2 separate regions of the Homo sapiens genome follow, and region 2 is linked to region 1. The links are contacts of gene promoters, found by promoter capture Hi-C in blood cells and fetal thymus (Javierre and others, 2016). All regions are on one chromosome and are shown on one strand. Each heading gives the region's core, a stretch centred on a gene start or on the middle of the fragment in contact. The rest is flanking DNA. Distances are from core to core; before and after follow the strand shown.

What was found. The method cuts DNA at HindIII sites, captures the fragments that hold promoters and counts their contacts. A CHiCAGO score of 5 or more calls a contact.
Region 2: a fragment that was not itself captured here is called in contact with the fragment with the promoter of SFRP1 in region 1 in 1 of 17 cell types (M2 macrophages); the score reaches 5.7 in M2 macrophages.

The regions. Positions count from the first base shown.
Region 1 is chr8:41,308,179-41,311,471 of GRCh38, reverse strand. It overlaps SFRP1 (secreted frizzled related protein 1), which reads left to right and starts at 1,999. Exons shown (of 3, transcript NM_003012.5): 1 at 1,999-2,856. The coding sequence starts at 2,313. RefSeq lists enhancers at 1-359, 2,279-3,049, 3,050-3,293. The HindIII fragment of the contact is 12,075 bases long and covers 1-3,293 here.
Region 2 is chr8:40,251,585-40,254,987 of GRCh38, reverse strand. No RefSeq gene overlaps it. Among named protein-coding and RNA genes, the nearest start is that of SIRLNT, 90 kb to the left of the region's middle. The HindIII fragment of the contact is 2,917 bases long and covers 493-3,403 here.

The DNA of each region.
Region 1 (3,293 bases), core at 750-3,249:
TTGGCTTGAGGTGGAGGGCCTGGCCCTAGGAGACAAAAAGACCCCCTACCAAACAGCATTTTTCTCTAAATGCCCCTTGAATTGAGACACAGTTGCCGGGTCTCCTGCGGTCTTATTCTCTGTGAGGAATGTCTTCCTCAGCTCCACAGGCCGGCCTCACCAATTGTCTTGGGATTAACCCTTGGCCATCCCGATCTTGCTCTCTCTTCTCTGTGTTTTCCTTCCAGCCTCCATGTCACCTTTTGAGTGTCAAGGCATCTTCCATTGGCCACGAAATGACAGAGAAGTCATCCATCTGCAGAAGCCTCCTGTGTGCACCGTGGAATCACCGTGTCTGTACGGGCACGAATGCTTTAAGAAAACAGCCCTGCTTCTTCACAAACTCTAGTCATTTCACTTGGAATCTGTCCATCAAGAAATTAGGTTTGCAGAGTCCAAAGCAAGCTCCCTAGAGCTTTACAAACAAGCTGGCGGGCAAGGCAGCGCGCCCTATAGTGTCTCTGTGGAGCGCTAAGATCTGTGACCCCTTTGCCACATGGGGTGTGCGCTCAGACTGGGCTATGAATATATCAGCCTCTCTCCACCCGCACTTAGGGACAGAAGATATGGAGACTCCAGGAACTTCATGAACTATTTGCTGTGGTCTTCTGTCCCGGGATAGTCCGGGTCTCACTCCCAGCTCTCCAGAGCTTAACCCTCCCTCTCAGGGGAATGTTTGAAACCTACGAAGAATTCTCAGGAATTCGAGGTAGAAGGTGGCAGAGAGACTTCTGTTCCTGGGGGCCGAGCTGTTGTGCTGATACCGTCCTCTTGGCGTCTGCCCTAGTGGGGACCCTTGATTTTAACTTGAAGTTCCTGGACTGGGTCTAACCTTAGCATGTGTGCCTGAGTGATGGACTTGGTATTTACACCAGCCACGCTGATAAGTGCACATGTGTTTTTAATGTTTTGGCTTTCCACACCACAAACACACAGATGTGCTGTCGCCCGGGCTAGGACTTGAGTAGGGTTTTTCTATTTAAATATATATTATATATTTAAAAAAGTGTCCTCCCAGAGCTAATACCGTTGCTAGCAGCTCTTCCTGCCGCCACACCGGGCAAAGTCCACCCACTGCCCCAGTGTTGAGGGCCACCATGGGCGGCCCCACCTGGAGAGGTGCTGCTCACAGCAAACAGCTCCAACTGCGCCTTCGCCTCGCCTTCCAGGGAGCCCAGCCAGGCCCACTGGGTATTTACAAGCAGACCTCCCTCGCTTCAGCCTTCCTGAACCCCTGTTAGTTGGGAAACCACCTGTCTGCACCGCAGCTAGAGAACCGAGGAGAGGAGCCGCTAGTCTAAAGGGCTGTTGGTTGAAATTAGGAAGCAGTGTAAAGAAAAAGAAAAAAAAAGTTTGGGAGGCCAAGGCAGGAGCATCACCTGAGGTCAGGAGTTCGAGACCAGCCTGGCTAACATGGTGAAACCCCGTCTCTACTAAAAATACAAAAAATTAGCGGGGGCATGGTGGCACGCGGCTGTAATCCCAGCTACTCGGGAGGCTGAGGCAGGAGAATCGCTTGAACCCGGGAGGCGGAGGTTGCAGTCAGCGGAGATAGCGCCATTGCACTCCAGCTTAGGCAACAAGAGCGAAACTGTCTCAAAAAAAAAAAGTCTTCATAATTTCATGGGTTTGCAAGTATGATCCAGGCTCCCCGCTTCTCTGCAAGCCAATGCGAGTTAATTACAGCGTCCGCCCTGGTCTCTCTCCACCCCACGCCGTGATCCATTCCCCTTCTTTTTCTCCCCTTGTCTCTTTCCTCCTCCCCCTTTTATTTATGTATTTTTGGTTTTGTTTTTTAAGGGGTGTTGAGCCGCGTCTGGTTCTAGTAAACCGAACCCGCTCGCGAGGGAGGCGATTGGCTCCCGCGCCGGTGACGGACGTGGTAACGAGTGCGGCTCGCCCCGCCGGGAGCTGATTGGCTGCGCGGGGCGGCTCCGAGGGCTCGGCCGTAGGAGCCCCGCGCACTCCAGCCCTGCAGCCTCCGGAGTCAGTGCCGCGCGCCCGCCGCCCCGCGCCTTCCTGCTCGCCGCACCTCCGGGAGCCGGGGCGCACCCAGCCCGCAGCGCCGCCTCCCCGCCCGCGCCGCCTCCGACCGCAGGCCGAGGGCCGCCACTGGCCGGGGGGACCGGGCAGCAGCTTGCGGCCGCGGAGCCGGGCAACGCTGGGGACTGCGCCTTTTGTCCCCGGAGGTCCCTGGAAGTTTGCGGCAGGACGCGCGCGGGGAGGCGGCGGAGGCAGCCCCGACGTCGCGGAGAACAGGGCGCAGAGCCGGCATGGGCATCGGGCGCAGCGAGGGGGGCCGCCGCGGGGCAGCCCTGGGCGTGCTGCTGGCGCTGGGCGCGGCGCTTCTGGCCGTGGGCTCGGCCAGCGAGTACGACTACGTGAGCTTCCAGTCGGACATCGGCCCGTACCAGAGCGGGCGCTTCTACACCAAGCCACCTCAGTGCGTGGACATCCCCGCGGACCTGCGGCTGTGCCACAACGTGGGCTACAAGAAGATGGTGCTGCCCAACCTGCTGGAGCACGAGACCATGGCGGAGGTGAAGCAGCAGGCCAGCAGCTGGGTGCCCCTGCTCAACAAGAACTGCCACGCCGGCACCCAGGTCTTCCTCTGCTCGCTCTTCGCGCCCGTCTGCCTGGACCGGCCCATCTACCCGTGTCGCTGGCTCTGCGAGGCCGTGCGCGACTCGTGCGAGCCGGTCATGCAGTTCTTCGGCTTCTACTGGCCCGAGATGCTTAAGTGTGACAAGTTCCCCGAGGGGGACGTCTGCATCGCCATGACGCCGCCCAATGCCACCGAAGCCTCCAAGCCCCAAGGTAAGGCTGCCTCCTCCCACGTGCGCGAGCCGCCCCCTCCATCCCCCGGCCGGAGCTGCAGGAGAACCCGCGCCACCCTACGCCCGCCCGCCGCTGGGTCCCGGTGCTGGGGACTGAGGGCCCGAGGTTGCTCGCATGCTGTGCACGTGATTCCTAAGCGCGTCTGGTCTGTCCCAGGTATCGCTCAGCGCCCCTCGCGACCCAGGTGCACGGCGGGGCTGGCCCGGGAGCGGCAGCTCTGCGCCTTGGCCTCGCAGGGACTCGCTGTGGTCCCCGGAGCCGCTCTTCCTGGGATCCAACTTCGCCTTTCCCATACCTGAAACAAAGCCTTGCGCTTTAAATAACAGGGGAGCTTCCCTCTCCTCTAGGAGGACTCCGAGTCCCTATCGAAGTTTTTAACCTCTGAGACGGGAGGAAAAAACAAAAACCCAAAGCGT
Region 2 (3,403 bases), core at 702-3,201, 1.1 Mb after region 1:
TGAACATTTTCCTAACACATCCTTCCTGCAGTTTGTGAGTCATTTCTGGATCTCCCACCAGAAACTGCTTGAACAAGAATACCCACACTTTCTCTGTCAAAGAACATCAGAGGGGGATAGTGGTTAAAATGTTATAAAAAAAAAAAAAAAAGCAATTTAACCAGGGACTATTGTAATAGGGGAAAAGAGACCTCTGTTTAAAACTGGGCTCAATTCTTAATATAATGTGAAAAGTGGGAATTTATAGTCAAGGATTAGGGTGAGGGGTCAGTGAATGGAAAGTCAGGAATAAGAGATTCTCGCTAAATCTATTTGGCAGGATTCTTGCTGAAGGCAGGCCCAGGTTATCAAATATTGAGGATGAAGGTTCTGGCCAACTGACTTAGCAAGATTCTTGCTAAAACCAGGCTCTTAAGAGCAAGGCTCAGATAGGTCCTAGTCAAAAAAAAAAAAAAAAAAAAAAGTAGTTGGGGTGCGGCGCTTAAAGAAGCTTGTTTAGGGGTTGGTCAAGAAGGGAGTCTTTGTTACCATAAAGATGGGGAATAAAATGCACTCTAAATCTGCACTAGAAATGAAAACATTTCTCCAATACATTTTTTAAATGGTAGCTTGCAATCCAGTGGTATTCTTGAAGTCAGTATAATGAATAACCGTAAGCATTTTTTAGACATTAAAAAAAATAAATAAAAATTATCCAAGACCTGTGTGTGATAAGGGAAATTGTGAAACAGGTGTGTGTTTGTGTACTTGGTCACAATGTAAACTGTAAAATTCATCGCTCAGAGAGGATCTGTTGAAAAGTTTGAGAAATACTGCTTTAATAAAATTACTCATCTAAATATGCAACTTTTGCTGCAACAAAAGCAAACTCTATATTGTTATTCACAGTAATTTAACTACTTTGAGCCAGTTTCTCCCACATCTTCATCCCTGCAGTCTTTTTACATTACACTTGCATAACTAAAAGTATCATCCAAATAATTTTCCTGAAAGGAACTCCCGAAGAAGAGTTAGTCTCCACTTCTAGAGCAAAGAGCATTGTTTCTCACTTTTAAATAGATTTCACCCCTTCCATCTTCTACCTGTCAACATTTCCAAAAATTTCAGCTACAAATTTCAGTCAGGTATAGTTAGAATGAATAAGATCTGGTATTTGATAGCAAAACAAGGTGACTATAGTCAACAGTAATTTATTGTATATTTTAAAAGAACTGAAAAAGTAAAATTAGAATGTCCCTAAAACAAAGAAATAATGAAGACTTTAGGTGATGGATACCCCAGTTACCCTAATTTGATTATTATACATTGTATGCCTGTATCAAAACATCACATGTAACCCATAAATATATATACCTATTATGTACCCATAAGAATTTTTTAAAATGTTAAAAAAAAAATTTCAGTGAAGGGACCCAAAATACACCATTTTGCCATATCTTTTTTCTCATATCTTTTTAGAGGTTCATATCTTAATCCCCGATAATATAAACTCTCTGACGATTATTTGATGTTTATTTGAATTGCCATTCAGAAGGTACTTAATAAATACAATTCACTAAGGCTGTAACACGAGTAAGGTCCAAAAATTAACATGCAGTCTAGCATCATTGAGTAGCTAATGAAACCAATGTATGAGCCAGGTCAGCTTAAAAGCTGCAGTACCAAGGGTCCATGACTGTTGCACAAATCTGTCCTTGTCCGGGCAGTGTTTGGCGCCACCCGGTGGTTGTCATCTGTTCCACTTTAAATATTGCTGGAGCCAGTTCTGGGTCCTGTGGCCGGCTGGCTGGAGCTTCCAGGATCTCAGCAAGGATTGGCGGAATCTCCAGGTCAGCTGGTACATGTTTCATTGGCGGCTTCCATGATAAATGGAAAGGGAGAAAACTGGGAATGTGCAGAACTAACCTCTAGCTCCTGACTTCCAAGCTGAGGTTTTCATCTTTTTCCTACCTAGCCCTATACTTGCATCCTCACCTTTTCTAACCGCACCCCAACCCCAGTTGTGTTGGAAAATAGCAGCCAGAGGAACCATATTGTTTCCATTACATTTTAGCTTTGTTCATAGTGGAGTTTTACAGTTGTAGAGGAGGAAAAAACAGCTTTTCTCCTCTATACTCCTAGGTTTTCCAGCTGCGGCCCTTGTAAATTCAACTGACAAAAGACAGATGAAAAAGACAAAAGCATAAAAATGTATTAAGTTCTTAGAAAATGAAAACCTTTTTAAGGAAATGAAGACCTGAAGATATGATTAAACCTGAGTGGGTGGGTTTTTGTTTTTTTTTTTTTCTTTTTTCTGAGACGGAGTTTTGCTCTTGTCGCCCAGGCTGGAGTGCAATGGCGTGATCTTGGCTTACTGCAACTTCTTCCTCCTGGGTTCAAGTGATTCTCCTGCCTCTGCCTCCCGAGTAGCTGGGACTATAGGCACCCACCAACATGCTTGGCTAATTTTTGTATTTTTAGTAGAGACGGGGTTTTGCCATGTTGGGCAGGCTGGTCTTGAACTCCTGACCTTAGGTGATCTGCCTACCTCGGTCTCCCAAGGTGCTGAGATTACAGGCGTGAGCCACTGCGCCAGGCCAAACCTGAGTGTTTTTATACTAGGTTGGGTGTAGGGTGGAAAGTCATAGAAAAGTGTGGTAGGACAAAGGGGTGTGAGCTAAGAGTAGTGAACTGGGGGAATTTAGCAAAGCGTGTTCATGCAGATTCCCTTCAGAAACCCCTCACCCAGGAGGGTCTTATGACCTGCTTCAGGGGTTACAGGAAAGTCAGAGAGTCCTTCGTGCACCTGACCATTCTCAAATTCCTTCAGCTTAAAATATTCATCCTACCAGTGCCATATTTTGGGGAAGTGTGTTCTGAACCCCATCACAACCCATGGGGTCAAATAAAAAAAAAATACAGGCTTAGTAAGGAGAGATTTAACCAAAAAAAGTATTGCAAGGGGAGTGGGGAAGAGACTTGAAACAGGGAGAGAACTATCGCAATAGGAATAATGCCATGACATGAAATCTACCAGGACTCAAAGGCTGGGGAAATGGGTTTTTCTTTAGAAAGCGGAGTAAACAAGGCTGGAAACAGCTAAATGACTATGTAGCATGATCAGCTGGTAGATCAGACAGTGATTTACCTGAGGCCAGCCTATTTTCTGGTGTGCACCAGCTCAGGCTGAGGGTGAGCCACAGCTGAGGAGCTTGGGAGAAGTTTAGGTAACCAGCATTTTGTACCTGTTGATTTATGATGGCAACCGGTTCAGCTAATCATTGATGAGACCAAGAGTTAGAAATTTGGAGGGTCTGTGTCCGGCCTTGTCATAAGTAAACAAGACAGAAAATTATGAGTCTTAAGCCTCTTTGCAGTAAGTTGTTCTCAGAAACACCGATGATGAAGGTGTTTTTTTTTTTTT